Regions from separate parts of the Homo sapiens genome. Here regions 1, 2, 3, 4, 5 and 7 are each linked to region 6. The links are contacts of gene promoters, found by promoter capture Hi-C in blood cells and fetal thymus (Javierre and others, 2016). All regions are on one chromosome and are shown on one strand. The core of a region is centred on a gene start or on the middle of the fragment in contact, and the rest is flanking DNA. Distances in the headings are between cores, read along the strand shown. Region 1 overlaps LOC105378841 (a long non-coding RNA gene). Region 2 has its middle 5.4 kb from the start of GBP3. Region 3 overlaps LOC105378841 (a long non-coding RNA gene). Region 4 overlaps KYAT3 (kynurenine aminotransferase 3). Region 5 has its middle 23 kb from the start of GBP2. Region 6 holds the start of GBP6 (guanylate binding protein family member 6). Region 7 has its middle 36 kb from the start of GTF2B.

Region 1 (2,846 bases), core at 206-2,705, 300 kb before region 6:
TGTTCTAGGCTCAGTACTGATGGCTTTACATGAATCGCACAACTGAAAACTCATAATATTTCCTCATGGTTTTATAGAAACTGAGCACAGAAAGACTTTATTAGTTGTCTAAAATCATAACACTGTAACTAATCTGAACCCAAGCACTCATGATCCCATACCCTCTTCTTGAACCACTTCACTATGCTGCTTATTTACTAAGTGAAAAATTGTAGAAATATTTTATTTATAGGTTTTTTATTTTTAAATTTATTATAGTGTGATTTTATTTTTATAGATTGTTTTCTAAGAGCTGTTTGTGTTTTATGTCTAATTCAGTAATGACTTCTAGCATACAGAATAAGTGGCATTATCTCTATTTTACAGCAAAAGCAAATAAAATAGTAAAAAGCCTGAGTGAACATTTCATTTAAAAATATATTTATAGTGATGTGGTTTCACTTTGTTGCTTAGGTTGGTCTTGAACTCCTTCCTTCAAATGATCCCCCTGCCTCGGCCTCCCAAATTGCTGGGATTATAGGCATGAGCCACCAGACCCAACCTTGTGTGAGCATTTCTTTTTTTTTCTTTTTCTTTTTCTTTTTTTTTTTTTTTTTTTTTGAGATGGAGTTTCACTCTTGTTGCCCAGGCTGGAGTGCAGTGGCACGATCTCGGCTCACTGCAACCTCCGCCTCCTGGGTTCAATCAATTCTCCTGCCTCAGCCTCCCAAGTAGCTGGGACTACAGGCATGTACCACTATCCTGGCTAATTTTGTATTTTTAGTAGAGATGGGGTTTCTCCATGGTGGTCAGGCTGGTCTCGAACTCCCGACCTCAGATGATCCACCCACCTTGGCCTCCCAAAGTGCTGGGATTACAAGTGTGAGCCACCAGGCCTGGCCAAGCATTTCTCACTTACACATTAAAATTATATATTAGATGTATATAAATTGCAGATACAGTGTCTTTTCTCATTCATACTTTGTAAAATAATTTTATCTAAACTCTTTCTATCATCCTTCCTTAACACTGTAGCTCCTTTATTATTAAAACTACTTTAAAGTCTTTTACTTTTTAGAGCATAACATTCTTACATCTGTCAAAATTATTTGAACCATTTAAAATCTCTGCAGATTGTCCTGGAAGTGTAGGGGTGGGTTGCCCCTCCACACCTGTGGGTGTTTCTCGTAAGGTGGAACGAGAGACTTAGGAAAGAAAAAGACACAGAGACAAAGTAGAGAGAAAGAAATAAGGGGAGCCGGGGAACCAGCGTTCAGCATATGGAGGATCCCGCCAGCCTCTGAGTTCCCTTAGTATTTATTGATCATTCGTGGGTGTTTCTCCGAGAGGGGGATGTGTCAGGGTCACAAGACAATTGTGGGGAGAGGGTCAGCAGACAAACACGTGAACAAAGGTCTTTGCATCATAGACAAGGTAAAGGATTAAGTGCTGTGCTTTTAGATACGCATACACATAAACATCTCAATGCTTTACAAAGCAGTATTGCTGCCCGCATGTCCCACCTCCAGCCTTAAGGTGGTTTTTCCCTATCTCAGTAGATGGAACATACAATCGGGTTTTATACCGAGACATTCCATTGCCCAGGGACGGGCAGGAGACAGATGCCTTCCTCTTGTCTCAACTGCAAGAGGCATGCCTTCCTCTTATACTAATCCTCCTCAGCACAGACCCTTTACGGGTGTCGGGCTGGGGGACGGTCAGGTCTTTCCCTTCCCACAAGGCCATATTTCAGACTATCACATGGGGGGAAACCTTGGACAATACCTGGCTTTCCTAGGCAGAGGTCCCTGAGGCCTTCCACAGTTTTTGTGTCCCTGGGTACTTGAGATTAGGGAGTGGTGATGACTCTTAAGGAGCGTGCTGCCTTCAAGCATCTGTTTAACAAAGCACATCTTGCACCGCCCTTAATCCATTTAACCCTGAGTTTGACACAGCACATGTTTCAGAGAGCACGGGGTTGGGGGTAAGGTCACAGAATCTCAAGGCAGAAGAATTTTTCTTAGTACATAACAAAATGGAGTCTCCCATGTCTACTTCTTTCTACACAGACACAGTGACAATCTGATCTCTCTTGCTTTTCCCCACAGGAAGCATACATCACAATGAAACATCTATTCAAGGAGAGCTCCTATAACTCCGGTAAGAATAACAAGAATCTGTGGCACTTGACCCTTGGGCCTCTTCATCCTCATTTTCAGTTCGGGTTGACAAAAGGTCCACTACTGGGGGCTATGGAAAGAAGGTGGGGCTGCCTCTTCTCTCACATTCTGAGCAGGGATGACATATCCTATCAGGAGTGCCAGTCCACCAGAATTTTTCATCCCCTCCAATAGTGAGTTGTAAAGACTAAATTTCTGGTGAGTGTGACCAGAAGTCAAGGGCTCCCAAACTTTCCCAGTCCCACTCATAGAGCAGAGGCTCCATAACTGCCCAACAGGTTCTCCTTGCCTGTTGCCTAGGTAGAGCTGATTTATCAAGACAGGGGAATTGCAGTAGAGAAAGCGTTTAATTCACGCAGAGCTGGCTGTATGGGATTCTCAAGTTTTATTATTACTCAAAAGATTCTCCCTGATAATGTGGGTATGGGGGTTTCTGAGGATAATTTGGTGGGTAGGAGGTTGGGGAGTGGGGAGTGCTGATTGGCTGGGTTAGGGATGAAATCACAGGGCATCAAAGTTGTCCTCTTGCATGAGTTGGTTCCTGGCTGGGGGCCACAAGACCAGATGAGCCAGTTTATTGACCTGGATGGCAATTGGAGAGGTCTGGAATCTTGTGGCCTCTAGCTGCATGACTCTCAGACCACAGTTTCTAATCTCATGGCTGATTTGTTAGTCTTGCAAAGTTAG
Region 2 (2,700 bases), core at 100-2,599, 340 kb before region 6:
TTTTATACCTAAAAACTTCAGTGTGTGTTTCTTAAAAAAGAGAAATTATTTTACAGAGCCACAGTATATTTGTGTAAAGTCCTTCTTAGGCCATAGACTTTTTTTCTAGTTTTTTATTTATTTATTTTTTTATACTTCAACTCTTAAGTTCAGGGGTACATGTGCAGGATGTGCAGGTTTGTTACACAGGTAAATGTGTGCCATGGTGGTTTGCTGCACAGATCATCCCATCACCTAGGTATTAAGCCCAGCATACCTTAGCTACTCTTCGTAATGCTGTCCCTTCCCAAAATCCCACCCCAACAGGCCCCAGTGTGTATGTTCCTCACCATGTGTCCATGTGTTCTCATTATTCAGCTCCCACTTATAAGTGAGAACACAGGGTGTTTGGTTTTGTGTTTCTGTGTTAGTTTGCTGAGGATAATGGCTTCCAACTTCCATCTCCATCCATGACCCTGCAAAGGACATGATCTCGTTCCTTTTTATGGCTGCATAGTTAACAGCTGGAATTCTGTGTCTCCTTCTTGGAGGGAAAACAATATGTAACAGACTCTTTAGACCTGTTCTTGCAAGTGTAACATGGATATGTGTCCTTAAGAAGCAAATATTAGTAGTTAATATCTGAATTTCTCTGCCCATCTACTTTACTGGGAAATGATAGAAGGTTGATTCAGGATTGGTGGAATCCTTTGGTGTCATTCTTGAAGCTCTTTAAGGTGAGGGACTGGAGCACTCGGTGTTGGGACTACCTACTCGTGCATTTGTCCCTGAGATAATAAACACTATTCACAAATTTTAAAATGTTCAAACTATTATGAGATCTTGGTTGGCATATCCCAGAACTAAAAGTCTGCATATGGTGTTTAGTTGGTAAATAATATTTACAAGAACAGATTTATTTACAAGGCATGGTTTTCCAACTGAGTGAATATAGAAGAACTCTCAAAATATGTTAAAGACTCCACGGAGCATATGAAGGCTTGAGTTTTTTTAATTCAATGTAAATCAAATAAAAGCACTTACCAAAGTGTTGAAGAACATTTGTTATCATTTTGAATGAATAGTGGCAATTATTGTATTTTAATTGAGGCTTGGTCTACATGAGGTTATGATTGAAAGTGACATTCCTGGAATAATGGATATTTCATGAGAATCATGAAACTATTTGCTGAATTTGATTCATTTTTACATGACTATCTGGAAAAAAGCCAAAATCAAAAAAAGACAAATGTGTCATCTGTATTCAAAATAGAGTAGAATGAATTAATCAAAACAAAAAATATAAAAATATTTGGAAAAAAACCAGACCCCCAAATACTAGTCCAGTATTGTAAGTTTTTCATGAGATTGGACAAATACTAATCAATTAACGATTATTATGAGTTGAAGGTATTATAGAAAACCCTGAAAGTTTGTAAATGTTTTCATTTCTTGCCACCTGAAAACAATCTTTCTGTGAGAAAGTGGAATATACTCGTTCTGGATGTTTGCAACATTCTATTGGACAGTATTTGTGGACAGTAGTATAACTATATCATATGACAATATAGCTATTATGAAAAGTAAAGATAAAGGATTGCATGCACTTTTTAAATTATACTTTAAGTTAGAGGGTACATGTGCACAATGTGCAGGTTTGTTACATAGGTATACATGTGCCATGTTGGTTTGCTGCACCCATTAACTTGTCATTTACATTAGGTGTTTCTCCTAATGCTTTCCCTCCCCCTGCCCCCCACCCCACGACAGGCCCTGGTGTGTAATGTTCCCCACCCCATGTCCCAGTGTTCTCACTGTTCAATTCCCACCTATGAGTGAGAAAATGCAGTGTTAGATTTTCTGTCCTTGTGATAGTTTGCTTAGAATGATGGTTTCCAGCTTCATCCATATCCCTGCAAAGGACATGAACTCATCCTTTTTTATGGCTGCAAAGTATTCCATGGTGTATATGTGCCACATTTTCATAATCCAGTCTATCATAGATGGACATTTTGGTTGGTTCCAAGTCTTTGCTATTGTGAATAGTGCCGCAATAAACACATATGTGCATGTGTCTTTATAGTAGCATGATTTATAATCCTTTAGGTATATACCCAGTAAGGGGATGGCTGGGTCAAATGGTATTTCTAGTTCTAGATCCTTGAGGAATCACCATACTGTCTTCCACAATGGTTTATCTAGTTTACACTCCCACCAACAGTGTAAAAGCATTCCTATTTCTCCAATCCTCTCCAGCAACTGCTGTTTCCTGACTTTTTAGTGAACGCCTTTCTAACTGGTGTGAGATGGTATCTCATTGTGGTTTTGATTTGCATTTCTCTGATGACTAGTGATGATGAGCATTTTTTCATGTGTCGGCTGCAAAAATGTCTTCTTTTGAGACTTCTCTCAAAATAAGACATATCCTTTGCCCACTTTTTGATGTGGTTGTTTGTTTTTTTCTTGTAAATTTGTTTAAGTTCTTTGTAGATTCTGGGTATTAGCCATTTGTCAGATGGGTAGATTGCAAAAATGGTCTCCCATTCTGTAGGTTGCCTGTTCACTCTGATGGAAGTTTCTTCTGCTGTGCAGAAGCTCTTTAGTTTAATTAGATCCCATTTGTCAATTTTGGCTTTTGTTGCCGTTGCTTTTGGTGTTTTAGTCATGAAGTCCTTGTCCATGCCTATGTCCTGAATGGTATTGCCCAGGTTTTCTTCTAGG
Region 3 (2,912 bases), core at 305-2,804, 320 kb before region 6:
TCTTTCTAAAAAGGTTTCCAGAGCATAAAATTTGTAATAAGGTGTGAATGTGTGATCTTTTATGTAGCTATCATTAATATTTTTCATAATTTCTGTTTTGATTTTTTTTTATGAGACAGAGTCTGGGTCTGTCACCCAGGCTGGAGTGCAGGGGTGCAATCTCAGCTCCCTGCAACCTCTGCCTCTGCAGCTCAAGTGATCCTCCTGCCTAAGCCTCTTGAGTAGATGGGAACACAGGTGTGCACAACAACCTCTGACTAATTTTTTTTATTTATTTTTATTTTTTTCTGTAGAGATGGGGTCTCGCCATGTTTCCCAGGCTGGTCTCAAACTCCTAGATTCAAGCGATCCACCTGCCTTGGCCTCCCAAAGTGCTGGCATTATAGGCATGAGGCACCATGCCAGGCCTGTTTTGAAATTTCATACATATTTATAAAACATATTTTCAGGATGAGAGAATATACGAAGAAGTTACATAGCATTGTGTATCTGTATAGAATAAAAATGATCTAAATCAATGTCATCAGACCATGGCTTTATAGACACCATCTTCTAGTCAAATCACTCATCTGTTTTTACCCAGTACTCATACTGTGGGAAAAGTGTAGGGGCACAGAACAGTGAACACTTTCGGGAATGTTGGAATCATTCTGTATTAGAATTTTATTCTTATAAAAAATGTTGGTGAATCAGTCTGGATTAGGTCATGGAAACAACACACCATCAATCATCACGGAAAGAAGGTGTTTCATGTGGGAATTTTAAGAATATAGGACAAACAGGATGTGGGAGAGATGGGGTTTCAAGGTCTGATAAGGGAATATTTGGTGGGATAAAGAAATAGTGACGAAGCACTTCAGCCTGAAGAGACTTCTTAGAAACCTATCAGGCCCATATTTCCTTCTCCCAAAAGGCAAAAATAGTACTTAAGTTATCCTCACCAGGAGATTTGGCTACAGAAATGAATAACCCAATTTTTAATCTATTCAGCTAGTCTCACCACTGCTACCCAAAGAGCTACCTGAGAGTCTTGGAGACACAACTGAACACCAATGATAATCTCTTAGATTATAGCTGGGGATATTACCAAAGATGTGATTTACCCAGAAGGATTAACTCTAGTGAAGCAGCTAGATCAGGAAGGTTACTGGGGTCCGAGTTTGGACTATGCCCTGCTTGGAATGAGAATATGGTCAGAAATCTTGTACTGTTAATAGAATGACTGCTCCACTGGCCAAACCATCAGAGCACAGCAGAAGTCCCAAACTCCCTTGCTCATGTGGTCCTAGACAACTACATTGTTTTTGACTGTCTTCTTGCTGTACAGGGTGATGTTTGTGCTGTTGCTAACATTTGCTGCTGCACCTGGGTAAATACATCTAGTTAGATTGAATTGGACACATCTAAGATCCTAAAGTTAGCTAAATCTCTGAATGGGACACCTTCAAAAAGCCTCCTGGCTGGACTTCCTGGCTTGAATTTACAATTTCCAGATATTTTCAGCTGGCTTTTGTCTCTAGTCTAGGATACCTTCTGTGTTCCATCCTACAGATCTTAATGATCCTTCTATTTGGGCTAATCATTTGGGTACTCTTTTGAATTGTTCTAGCCTGTTTTTTTTGTTTGTTTGTTTTGTTTTGTTTGGAGATGGAGTTTCACACTTGTTGCCCAGGCTGGAGTGCAATGGTGGGATCTCGGCTCACTGCAACCTCCACCTCCTTGGTTCAAGCGATTCTCCTGCCTCAGCCTCCCGAGTAGCTGGGATTACAGGCACGCACCACCACACCCGGCTAGTTTTGTATTTTTAGTAGAGATGCATTTTCTTCATGTTGCTCAGGCTGGTCTCAAACTCCTGACCTCAGGTGATCCGCCCACTTCGGCCTCCCAGTGTGCTGAGATTACAGGTGTGAGCCACTGCGCCCAGCTCTTCTAGCCTGTTTTAACAGATATCTGCAAGAGGCTTGGATCATGCTGACCTAACCCAGGAAATTTTAAATTTACTCCAGACAGGAACCAGAATCAACATAACCTACGAGACTTTGATTAGAATCTAACAGGTACCTGAGTGCCTTTTGTAAGTAAATGGCTCTAGTTGCTCAATTGGCCACTGCTCTGCCACCAGGATCCCTAGAAGAGACCAGATAAACCTGAAGCACGTAGCTAATCACTTCCATGCCGTGATGGAATGCAGTGCTGTCTGCCAACAAGTTTGAGCCAGTCTTTCAAGATGCATCCTGAGTGGCTAACTGGGCCTGCATTTCAAGTTGAGCCAAGGGACCATTTGCTAACGAGGGGACACACACATGTTCTGAGTTCACCCAAAACACATACCTTATTATTTTGGGGCTTTTCAGCCCACCTGCCTCTGCTAATCAGGGCTCAGCTGTATTGACCCATTAGAACTCAGCTGGGTTGACCAATCAGAACTAAGTGAGTTTGGAGTTTTAATTCTCAATTGAATGAACAGACCTGATTGGGAACCTGCGTGGGAACTTTGGCTATTAAACCTGAGCATTCTTTCTGTTCTCTGGAAGAAATAATGTTTAAGTTGCTAACACTTTATGCATTTTCCTAAAATTGAATCAAACAACTCCTTTTGAAACATAACCCTGATATCAGGGAAGTCGTACAACACCGTGCTAAATAATTTTATACCTCTAACCAAGGTCTGTGCCCTAATCAGCAGGAAGTGCCAGAGTGTCTGTCACCCATTCTCCCTCAAGATTGAGAAATGAACAATGAAAAAAGGGGGATTTGAAAATGCAGAACCAGCCCAATGTGGTTCAAGTTTGTGTAATAAAATAATGCGTTGTTTTACTGTTGCCACGGTCTCCTGGTTTCAAGTTATGTTACCTGAGCATGCCCAGACACACTCTGCATGCAACCACGGTGGAACCTAAGTACTTGGACCA
Region 4 (2,848 bases), core at 272-2,771, 410 kb before region 6:
AAGGGTAGAGCCCTCAGGAACAGGATTAGTGCCCTTACAAAGGAGGGTTAGCTTGCTCCTTCCACCATGTAAGGACACAGCAAAAGGCACCATCCGTGAAGAAGCATGTCCCCACCAGACACCAAATCTGCTGGTGCCTTATCTTGGACTTTGCTGCCTCCAGAACAGTGAGAAATAAATTTCTGTTGTTTATAAGCCACCCAGTCCAACTAAGACATTAAGGACCAGGCAGGTAAGAGAGACTGTGTGGCAAGAGATGAGACTGGAGACAGAGAGGGGCAAGATCACAGAGATTTTATGCCAAAAGAATGCAGTAAAACAGAATTAGTAATAAATCTCCAGTACTACAAAATCTTGGAAAATAAGGATCGATTGCCTTAGCCTGGAAATCTGTGGTTTCCTGGAACCAAACATGGTTGTCCCAGGACAAAACAGAGCACCTAGCTGAAATGGAGAATAAGAGTGTTCAGAAAAAGATGTTCTGCATTCTTAGCTATATCTTTTTTTTTTTTTCTCTTGGCAACTTGTTCATTTACTATAGGAGATACTGCCTTAGAAAATTCCAAGTATAAGGAGACATAAACATCCATCCTAACTACAGCATTATCCTGGACTCCTTTCTTTTTCACATATCCCATATGTAACCTATTGACAAATAATGTTGGCTCTACTTTCAAAATATATTCAGAGTCCAATCACTTTTTACTGCTTCTACCACCCCCATCTTTGTTCAATGCACTGGCATTTCTCTCTTGGATCACTGTAACAGCTTTCTCACTCAATGAGGCAGTCAGAGTCCATTTGCTAACACAAGCCAGACCAAGTCACTCCTGAGTTCAAAACTCTCTAGTGACTTCCTATCTCACTCAGTCCTTACAGTGACATGCATGCCCCAGCTCCATTGGACTCCCAGCTACCTCTCTGATCTTAGCTTTTCCTACTCTTCTCTCAATCATTCCATTCCAGTCTCTGTGCTGTTCTCTGATATTAACATGCCAGCCAGGCTGTCTACCACTGGGCCTTTCCGCTTGTTCTCTCTGTCCAAAGGGGTTTTTCTCTAGGTAACCATGTGGCTGCTTAATCCCCTTCAGTTAGTTGTTCAAATGTTACCTTATCAGGGAGGCTTTCAAAGATTACCCTATTTAACACTGTATATCTCCCACCTGGAGCTTTATATCCTTCCTCTTCCCTATTTTATCTTTCTTCTTCATATCTATCAACATCTTTTTTTTCTTTCTTTTCTTTTTTTTTTTTGAGACGAAGTCTTGCTGTTGTTGCCCAGGCTGGAGTGTAGTGACACGATCTCAGCTCACTGCAACCTCTGTCTCCTGGATTCAGGCAATTCTCCTGCCTCAGCCTCCTGAGTAGCTGGGATTACAGGCGCCTGCCACCATGCCCAGCTAATTTTTGTACTTTTAGTAGAGACAGGGTTTTGCCATGTTGGCCAGGCTGGTCTCGAACTCCTGGCCTCAGGTGATCCGCTCACCTTGGCCTCCCAAAGTGTTGGGATTATAGGCGTGAGCCATTGTGCCTGGTTCTTTTGCCCTTTTAACTGCCTTCTAGAAAAATACTATTTTTTTCAGCATTTTGATTATCCATAGAATGATGGTAACTAAATCCCTATTTCCATAATATATATTAAAAATATTAAATATTAAATAATATTTAAATAGTTTTTCTTTTTTACTTTATGATGTATTCTAGAAATCTTTTTTATCTCAGTACAGTAATTATAGTATTTCCCTATTTTCTTTCTTGTTTCTTTTCTCTTTAGCAGCCAGTAGACAGAGTAATGGGTCCCAATGACTTCTAGGTCTTAAAACCCAGAACTTGTAAATATGTTACCTTGCATGGTGAAAGGAACTTTGCAGATGTGATTGAAATTAAGGAGATTATCCTTAATTAATTGGACAGATTATCCATTGGGCCCAATGTTATCTCAAAGGTGCTTATAAGGGAAAAAGGGAGGCAGGAGGGTTGAAGCCACAGGAAATGTGTTGACGGAAGCAGAGGACAGACTCTCCTAGAGCCTTCAGAAGGAACACAGCAATGCCAGCACCTTGATTTTAGCCCTTTAAGACCCATTTCTGACTTCTGAGCTGAAGAACCGTAGGATAATAAATTTGTGTTGTTTTAAGTCACTAAGTTTGTGGTAATTTGTTATAGCACCAGTAGGAAACTTAATATGGTCATATAACATTTCAATGTTTGGATAGATCATGGTTTATGTAATCAATCGTCTGTAGATGATAATGGATTCTCCTCAATCATCTGCAATGAATAGCCAGGTAAGTACGTAACTTCTTACATGTGCAGATAGCTTGATATGGTTTGGATCTGTGTCTTCATCCAAATCTAGTGTCCAGTTGTAATCCTCAATGTTGGAGGTGGGGCCTGGTGGGAGGTGATTGGATCATGGGAGTGGTTTCTCATGAATGGTTTAGCACCATCCCCTTGATGCTGTTCTCATGAGAGTGAGTTATTGTGAGATACGGTTGTTTAAAAGTGTGTTGCACCTCCCCACTTCTCTCCCTCCTGCTCCAGCCCTGTGAGACATGCCTACTCCCTCTTTGCCTTCCACCATTATTGTAAGTTTTCTAAGGCCTCTCCAGAAGCAGAAGCCACTATGCTTTCTGTACAGCCTGTAGAACCATGAGCCAAGTAAACCTCTTTTCTTTATAAATTACTAAGTCTCAGGTATTTCTTTACCTAAGTGCAAGAACGGACTAAAACACAACTTTAGGGTAAATTCTTAGAAGATGGATTGCTTTCATGGGGCAAACACATGTGTAATTTTGTTTGGTGTTGCCATTGTCCTTCACAGAATTTGTAGCACTTTAGATTCCTG
Region 5 (2,870 bases), core at 318-2,817, 260 kb before region 6:
ATTATATTTGATACATATTCCAGATAAGGATCTTGACCTTATATCTGGCTGGATCTTTGTGTTTTTATTTCACCCCTATAATGTCCTGGAGCTTTCCAAGTTACCTTCTGAGAACAGACAATTAGAAGGAAAGATAACAAGAAACTTCTGCAATAGACTAGACAAACTAAATCTGAAAGTCCTGAGTGCAAAGCAGTGGATTAAAACTATAAAGAATTTTCTGGGAGCTGTGCTAGTAGTTGCATTAACATCTTCAAATTTTATTTTTGGAAGAAATCTTAGATACCATTTGTTGTTGTTTTTAAAAGTCCATCATATCATGTGAAATATAATCTCACTTACTTCAGGTTTGGGTGACATTTTGAAAAGCCAAGAATGAGGAGGAATCATATTGTTTTTAAGTCTAACTTCCTCAAATATTTGACATACTCATATTGGAACAGGTTAGTCACTTAGAGATGCAGCAAGTGAAGGAAAGGACATGTCTTATATACTGATGAGTACCTAGCACCAAATTAAGGATGTAGCCTTCCATATGTATTTTGATTAAAAGAATGAAACTGGGAGTGGAGCATGAAGGTCAGAGATGATGTTCTTATTAAAGGCTTTTGAGATGTATTAATAAATTTGCCTCCATCCCTTCACCACCCCCCGAAACAGGTGGAATAAGGCTTTTTAATATTAACTAAATTGAGAGGTGGAAAATGGCATGCTATTTTCATAAGTTTTTAAATATTACTGAGATGAATTATATTTTCATGTAGTAATTTTTAAATCATACTTTCACCTTATAATACATAAGTTTCATTGCAGCATTGAACCCTGGGTTAGTGTTATAATAAAAAGTATATTGCATTCAGGCTGGGTGCAGTGGCTCACGCCTATAATCCCAGTGCTTTGGGAGGCTGAGGCAGGCAGATCACTTGAGGTCAGGAGTTCCAGACCAGGCTGGCCAACATGGCGAAACCCGTCTGTACTAAAAATACAAAAATTATCTGGGCATGGTGATGTGTGCCTATCATCCCAGCCACTTGGGAGGTGGAGGCAGGAGAATTGCTTCAACCCGGGAGGCAGAAATTGCAGTGAGCTGAGATTGCGTCACTACACTCCAGCCTGGGTGACAGAGTGAGACTCTGCCTAAAAAAAAAAAAATATATATATATATATTATATATATATATATTACATTTAGTGCCTATTATACAGTAGATATTGTGTTAAATTCTTTATAGGTATTATTTATGAAATTTAATTTATTCCTCAGTACAAGCTTGTTGATGTAAGTTATCATCCTCATTTTACAGCAAATATACTACTAAGACTTTTTTTTTAAAGTCTTCCAACAGTTTATTAGAAAGAATGTAGGCATTTAAAAAAATCCCCACTGTCATGAACATAAATTGAGGTTTTCAGCCCTGGTATAAGCTGAATCAAAAAAAGAAAAAATCCGGCCGGGCGCGGTGGCTCATGCCTGTAATCCCAGCACTTTGGGAGGCTGAGGGGGGCAGATCACGAGGTCAGGAGATCGAGACCATCCTGGCTAACACGGTGAAACCCCATCTCTACTAAAAAATACAAAAAATTAGCCGGGCATGGTGGCAGGCGCCTGTAGTCCCAGCTACTCGGGAGGCTGAGGCAGGAGAATGGTGTGAACCCGGGATGTGGAGCTTGCAGTGAGCAGAGATCGGGCCACTGCACTCCAGCCTGGGTGACAGAGAGAGACTCTCAAAAAAAAAAAATACAATAGTGTATTAAACATTTTTCACTCATTTGCCATACTGACAATGCAAATACAAATCTGGACTAAATGTACAGACTCTCAAGCAACAATGTACAGCTTTCTTCGTCTTCCATGCTAAGAGATGTAAAAGCTTAAGGGTCAAACAATACCAAATGTACAGGCTTCAAAAACCATCTAAGTTAGGGCATTCTCTAATTTTAGCTAATATACACCTGGAACACTGACAAGTGATCACTTACATAGAATAATGTGAAGTAAATTTTTTGAAAAATAAATTTTAGTGGAACAATCCTGAAGGATAACACCAGAGGAATAGCAGGTTACCAGTAAGGTGTCAGCCAATTTGTTCAGCCACTTTTGAATCCATGTTCTATAATCTAAAATTTAGCTCTCTTTCCCTAAGCTGAGAGCTTCCTATCATCATGTCAGTATCTATATTATGAAGAAAAGGAGACTTAGGTGAGATGTTTTTATTTATCACAACTGCCGCATTAATTGCCTAGGACCTCAACAGCTTCATGAAAGTCTGGGAAATGTTCATGCATAAGGTTATTGCCTTAGCTGACTTAAAATTGCCCCCTACAATGGTACATATCAACCCTTAGTGAAGCCCTTTAAAAAACAAACAGGTTGAAAAATGGGTTAAAGTAGGCAGCTACAGCATCTGCTTTTAGATCAACTCAGGAATTCTCTCAATCATGAAATCTTGCAGAGAAGTTATTTTTCTTTCTCAAAACCCAGGTGATGACAATATTCCTTACTGCAGATCTGGCATTTTTTCATCATCACTGTCTTGTGAATCATCATCTGCTCCATCTACTTCTGGTAAATCTACATCCTCATCACCACCCATGTTATTCATCATCTCAGAGAAACGATCAAAATTAGACATGTCTTCATCTGAATCATCTTCCCAGTCTTTCCAATTATTGAAGTCAACACTAAGCCAATTAAGCTTTGCCCTTTCTTTTGTTAACCTTGGCCATGACTGTCCAGATTCTCCTTTTCGTAAACAACATAAAATTGATCTGTCCGTTCTTTTATGCTTGGAATCGTTTGTATCAATACAGTGAAAAAGATCAATTTCATTTAAATGCTTAAAATTATCACTTCCTCCGAGACAACTGAAT
Region 6 (2,918 bases), core at 319-2,818:
GACAAATTAGTCAATTTTTAATATTGCTTTTGAAAATATTAAACATTTTTGAATCCAGAATTTTCCTTTTTTTTTGAGATGGAGTCTCGCTCTGTCGCCCAGGCTGGAGTGCAGTGGCACAATCTCGGCTCACTGCAAGCTCTGCCTCCCAGGTTCACACCATTCTCCTGCCTCAGTCTCCTGAGGAGCTGGGACTACAGGTGCCCGCCACCACACCCGGCTAATTTTTTTGTATTTCTAGTAGAGAGAGACAGGGTTTCCCCCTGTTAGCCAGGATGGTCTTGATCTCCTGACCTCGTGATCCGCCCGCCTCGGCCTCCCAAAGTGCTGGGATTACAGGAGTGAGCCACCGCACCTGGCCCAGAATTTTACATTTTTAACACAAGTCTTTGTCTGAATAGAGTATTCAGATTAGTCTACCACACTCCCCAAATCCTCAGCCTAAGTTATTGCCAAAACTCATGTCTGCTCATTCTGCCACTTGCTTCTGTTCTCAAATCCATTTAGCAGTGCAGCCATGGTAGACAGTCCCAGCATGCTGCTATGTCCTCTGTAGAGAGTCTTTCTCCTTTTCTCACTCAGATGTTTCTCCAAGCTGTGAAAGGGTGTCTATTTTGCCCAAGGGCAGCTTGTGAATTCAAAATAGTTAAAGTCCCTGGGGATAAGACTCAACCAATGGAAACTGTGGGTTGTTGGATAAATAGTCCACATCAAGGGTCCCAAACCCCCAGAGCATGGTCTGTTAGAAACTGGGCCACACAGGAGGTGAGTAGGGAGAGAGCACTAAGGCCTGAGACCTGCCTCCTGTCAGATCAGCAGCAGCATTAGATTCTCATAGGAGCTTGTACACTGTTATGCACTGCACATTCCACCTTCTATGTCCATGTATGCAGATTTTTTAGCTTCCACTTATGAGTAAGAATGTGGTATTTGACTTTCGGTTTCTGAGTTGTTTCACCTAAGATAATGAACTCCAGTTCCATCCATGTTGCTGTAAAAGACATGGTTCATTCTTTTTTTAAACCAGTAATATCTTTAGCTCTCTCTCTTTCTCTCTCTCTCTTCTGTGTGTGTGTGTGCATGTGTGAACACATTTAAAATATCAAAAGTTCTTCACTAACAAAAGACCCCAGAACTCAAGAATTCCCACTAAGAGAAAAATGCTTAAAATATTCTTGGTTTCTAAGGCTTTGCTTATGTGACTACTGTAGATTTCCTGTTTTTCTTGTGTGCCTAGGAAACTAAAGCCACCTGGGAACGGTATCAAGAAGAAAGCCTGTGAAGCCTTCTAAGATGGGAAAGACAAAAGAAAGCTGGCAGGATTGTGCTTGCTAAGGTGTGACTGTGCAGTATCTGTGGCTTTTTCTGACCTCCTCCCACCCCTGCACCCAACACCCATCCTCAAACTCACATCGGATGATTCAGGCATGGCTCTGCTAACACTTTATTAAAAGCATGGATTAATTTTACTTCCAAGTTTATTTTTACTGCACCATCCCATTTGTGGAAACAACTAGCTTACTCAGCTTTTTTTTCCTTTTATAAAGGAAAGAACAGAAAAGTAAAAGGAGGAAAGAAAACAAGAGGTGAGTGAGGCAACTGAAAACTGTTCTTGGACCTGCGGTGCTATAGAGCAGGTATGTTCACTTTCTTTTAAATGCAACTTAGTTCCTAACTCAAGACTTGGTTTCTGATTCAGAGTGGTAACTGAGGAATGGGCAGGAAGGGCAGGGTGCCTGCTGCCTGGCCTGCAGGAGTCTGTGGCTGGCTTTAGTTCTGGGGAAGCTCAGCTTCTCCACTTGAACCAGTGACAGCCGGGCACGCCGCGTCCCCCTGGATGTGCTGTTCCCTGATCATCAACTCAGGACAGCAGTGAGTGGCCTGGAATGAGCCCTGGTGGGCGCCTGCCTGGCTATCTCTCTCAGGTCCTGCGGCAAGCCCCAGAATGCAGAGAACAAGGAGCTTCCAGGCAATTATACCGGAAGGGAGAGTTTCTTGTCTATCTTTCTAGTGGTCACACTTAGGAAAGCTTCAGAATAAGAGCTCTATAAATCTCTATGTAGAAATAAACTTAGGCCCCACATCACTGGTCTTTATTACTTAAAAATAATTATATAGTCCAAACTCTGTGTGTGCGTGTGTGTGTGTGTGTGTGTATGTGTGTGTGGGGAGGGGGTGGGGGAGGAGGGGGGTGTTAGTTTCCCATAGGAACATCAGAGTCTCTTGTAGCTCTTGCTAAACAGATGGATACTTAGGCCTGGGAATCTGGGTTTGAACAATCCTCTCAGTTGATTCTTTAAAAAAAAAAAAGATGAAGAATAGACACTATGTTTAAAATAAAAAAGATTTTTTTAAAAACCACCATGTCCCATGGTGGTTTGCTGCACCTATCAATCCGTCATCTAGGTTTTAAGCCCCGCATGCATTAGGTATTTGTCCTAATGCTCTCCCTCCCCTTGCCCTCCACCCACTGACAGGCCCCAGTGTGTGAGTTTCCCACCCCCACCCCCAGCGCCAACCCCCCGCCGCCCGTGTCCACATGTTCTCATTGTTCAACTCCCACTTACCAGTTAGAACACGCAGTTTTTGGTTTTCTGTTCCTGTGTTAGTTTGCTGAGAATGGGATCTAATTAAAGAGCTTCTGCACAGCAAAAGAAACTATCATCAGAGTGATCAGGTGATTCTTATGTACATCAGAGTGTGAAAACCAGTCCTGAATAGGATTGAACAGCTGTATTTCATTTAGTAGAAGTTAAAAGGTCTGTGGTTCCCACACAGCTAAGAAACCAGAGACCTGGTTTATATAAAGTTGTTTGCAGGAGCAGCCACATCTTCCTAGAGCTGCCTTTATTGTTCACTTTAAAGAAGGGACTGTACAGTTGCAGTCACTGTAATGTGATGAACACGTTACACATCAC
Region 7 (2,700 bases), core at 41-2,540, 440 kb before region 6:
TTATGGCGCTCACTGCAACTTCAACTTTCCAGGCCCAAGCAATCCACCCCCCTCACCCCCACAATTAGTTGAGGGTACAGGTGTGTGCCACCATACCTGGTTAATTTTTCTTTACTTTTTGTATAGACAGGATCTCACTGTGTTGCCCAGGCTGGTCGCAAACTCCTGGGCTCAAGCGATCCTCCTGTCTTGGCCTCCCAAAGTGCTAGGATTACAGATGTGAGCCACCACACCTGGCCCTGACCGATAGATGGTTCCTCCCAGGAGACTGAGGGAAAAACCACAACGGGTATTCAGTAATTGATAGGGAGACTCTTGTGGAAGCAGAGTTAGAAAAATTGCCTAATAATTGGTCTCCTCAAACGTGGGAGCTGTTTGCACTTAGCCGAGCCTTAAAGTACTTACAGAATCAAAAAAGACTATCTCAATCCTGACTCAAAAGGTTACCCACACCCTCTCTGAAACAAATTTGCATAAGAACTGTTGTTTATGGGAATGAATCTTGATGGGGCAGCTGGGTTGTTATGAAATACTCAGGAACCCAGCCCAGCTCTAGGACTCACCCCTGAGCACAAATGCAATGTTGGGCACGCTGGTAAAGGACCACTAGAATCCAGCAGCCCGGACCCATTTCTTTGTGGTCAAGAAAGACGGAAAAAGGGGTGCAGGACTGCTACATCGGTAAGCGTAACTAATCCGATAAGCAGAGGTCCATGGGTGGTTACGCACCCTGGAAGGGAATAAACATTAGGACCATAGAGGACGCTCTAGGACTAATGCTCATCAGAAAATGACTAGGGGTGCTGGCATCCCTATGTTCTTTTTTCAGATGGGAAACATTCCCCCCAAGGCAAAAACGCCCCTAAGATGTATTCTGGAGAATTGGGACCAATTTGACCCTCAGATGCTAAGAAAGAAACTACTTATATTCTTCTGCAGTACTGCCTGGCCACAATATCCTCTTCAAGGGGGAGAAACCTGGCCTCCTAAGAGAAGTATAAATTATAACAGCATCTTACAGCTAGACCTCTTTTGTAGAAAAGAAGGCAAATGGAGTGAAGTGCCATATGTGCAAACTTTCTTTTCATTAAGAGACAACTGGCAATTATGTAAAAAGTGTGATTTATGCCCTACAGGAAGCCCTCAGAGTCTACCTCCCTACCCCAGTGTCCCCCTGACTCCTTCCCCAACTAATAAGGACCCCCCTTCAACCCAAATGGTCCAAGAGGAGATAGACAAAGGGGTAAACAATGAACCAAAGAGTACCAGTATTCCCCGATTATGCCCCCTCCAAGCAGTAGGAGGAGGAGAATTCGGCCCAGCCAGAGTGCATGTACCTTTATCTCTCTCAGACTTAAAGCAAATTAAAATAGACCTAGGTAAATTCTCAGATAACCCTGATGGCTATATTGATGTTTTAGAAGGGTTAGGACAATCCTTTGATTTGACATGGAGAGATATGTTACTGCTAAATCAGACACTAACCCCAAATGAGAGAAGTGCCGCCATAACTGCAGCCCGAGAGTTTGGTGATCTCTGGTATCTCAGTCAGCTCAATGATAGGATGACAACAGAGGAAAGAGAATGATTCCCCACAGGCCAGCAGGCAGTTCCCACTGTAGACCTTCATTGGGACACAGAATCAGAACATGGAGATTGGTGCCGCAGACATTTGCTAACTTGCGCGCTAGAAGGACTAAGGAAAACTAGGAAGAAGCCTATGAATTATTCAATGATGTCCACTATAACACAGGGAAAGGAAGAAAATCCTTCTGCCTTTCTGGAGAGACTAAGGGAGACATTGAGGAAGCATACCTCCCTGTCACCTGACTCTATTGAAGGTCAACTAATCTTAAAGGATAAATTTTTCACTCAGTCAGCTGCAGACATTAGAAAAAAACTTCAGAAGTCCTCCTTAGGCCTGGAGCAAAACTTAGAAACCCTATTGAACTTGGCAACGTTGGTTTTTTATAATAGAGATCAGGAGGAACGGGACAAACGGGATAAAAAAAAAAGGGCCACCGCTTTAGTCATGGCCCTCAGGCAAGCGGACTTTGGAGGCTCTGGAAAAGAGAAAAGCTGGGCAAATCGAATGCTAATAGGGCTTGCTTCCAGTGCGGTCTACAAGGACACTTTAAAAAAGATTGTCCAAGTAGAAGTAAGCCACCCCCTCGTCCATGCCCCTTATGTCAAGGGAATCACTGGAAGGCCCACTGCCCCAGGGGACGAAGGTCCTCTGAGTCAGAAGCCACTAACCAGATGATCCAGCAGCAGGACTGAGGGTGCCCGGGGCAAGTGCCAGCCCATGCCATCACCCTCACAGAGCCCCAGGTATGCTAGACCATTGAGGGCCAGGAGGTTAACTGCCTCCTGGACACTGGCACAGCCTTCTCAGTCTTACTCTCCTGTCCCGGACAACTGTCCTCCAGATCTGTCACTATCCGAGGGGTCCTAGGACAGCCAGTTACTAGATACTTCTCTCAGCCACTAAGTTGTGACTGGGGAGCTTTACTGTTTTCACATGCTTTTCTAATTATGCCTGAAAGCCCCACTCCCTTGTTAGGGAGAGACATTCTAGCAAAAGCAGGGGCCATTATACACCTGAACATAGGAGAAGGAACACTCGTTTGTTGTCCCCTGCTTGAGGAAGGAATTAATCCTGAAGTCTGGGCAAGAGAAGGACAATATGGACGAGCAAAG

Evidence for each region. The method cuts DNA at HindIII sites, captures the fragments that hold promoters and counts their contacts. A CHiCAGO score of 5 or more calls a contact.
Region 1: a fragment that was not itself captured here is called in contact with the fragment with the promoter of GBP6 in region 6 in 7 of 17 cell types (non-activated CD4 T cells, activated CD4 T cells, total CD4 T cells and 4 more); the score reaches 11.3 in non-activated CD4 T cells.
Region 2: a fragment that was not itself captured here is called in contact with the fragment with the promoter of GBP6 in region 6 in 9 of 17 cell types (naive CD8 T cells, activated CD4 T cells, non-activated CD4 T cells and 6 more); the score reaches 10.6 in naive CD8 T cells.
Region 3: a contact is called between a fragment that was not itself captured here and the fragment with the promoter of GBP6 in region 6, in 9 of 17 cell types (total CD4 T cells, non-activated CD4 T cells, activated CD4 T cells and 6 more). The highest score is 10.5, in total CD4 T cells.
Region 4: a fragment that was not itself captured here is called in contact with the fragment with the promoter of GBP6 in region 6 in 10 of 17 cell types (activated CD4 T cells, naive CD8 T cells, total CD4 T cells and 7 more); the score reaches 10.8 in activated CD4 T cells.
Region 5: a fragment that was not itself captured here is called in contact with the fragment with the promoter of GBP6 in region 6 in 4 of 17 cell types (activated CD4 T cells, non-activated CD4 T cells, total CD4 T cells and 1 more); the score reaches 7.6 in activated CD4 T cells.
Region 7: a contact is called between a fragment that was not itself captured here and the fragment with the promoter of GBP6 in region 6, in 2 of 17 cell types (activated CD4 T cells and naive CD4 T cells). The highest score is 6.1, in activated CD4 T cells.

Annotation. Positions count from the first base shown.
Region 1 is chr1:89,065,738-89,068,583 of GRCh38, forward strand. LOC105378841 (a long non-coding RNA gene) reads left to right here. Exons shown (of 5, transcript XR_947575.3): 3 at 2,088-2,139. Among named protein-coding and RNA genes, the nearest start is that of GBP1, 2.0 kb to the left of the region's middle. The HindIII fragment of the contact is 3,541 bases long and covers 1-2,846 here.
Region 2 is chr1:89,026,940-89,029,639 of GRCh38, forward strand. No RefSeq gene overlaps it. Among named protein-coding and RNA genes, the nearest start is that of GBP3, 5.4 kb to the left of the region's middle. The HindIII fragment of the contact is 5,231 bases long and covers 1-2,700 here.
Region 3 is chr1:89,047,222-89,050,133 of GRCh38, forward strand. All of the region lies in intron 2 of LOC105378841 (a long non-coding RNA gene), which reads left to right. Among named protein-coding and RNA genes, the nearest start is that of GBP1, 17 kb to the right of the region's middle. The HindIII fragment of the contact is 7,509 bases long and covers 1-2,912 here.
Region 4 is chr1:88,949,998-88,952,845 of GRCh38, forward strand. The region is part of intron 10 of KYAT3 (kynurenine aminotransferase 3); the gene reads right to left. Among named protein-coding and RNA genes, the nearest start is that of KYAT3, 41 kb to the right of the region's middle. The HindIII fragment of the contact is 4,519 bases long and covers 1-2,848 here.
Region 5 is chr1:89,101,788-89,104,657 of GRCh38, forward strand. It overlaps the pseudogene PTGES3P1. Among named protein-coding and RNA genes, the nearest start is that of GBP2, 23 kb to the right of the region's middle. The HindIII fragment of the contact is 601 bases long and covers 1,268-1,868 here.
Region 6 is chr1:89,362,491-89,365,408 of GRCh38, forward strand. It overlaps GBP6 (guanylate binding protein family member 6), which reads left to right and starts at 1,569. Exons shown (of 11, transcript NM_198460.3): 1 at 1,569-1,637. The HindIII fragment of the contact is 2,752 bases long and covers 1-2,027 here.
Region 7 is chr1:88,926,377-88,929,076 of GRCh38, forward strand. It overlaps a transcript of KYAT3 not described here. Among named protein-coding and RNA genes, the nearest start is that of GTF2B, 36 kb to the left of the region's middle. The HindIII fragment of the contact is 8,876 bases long and covers 1-2,700 here.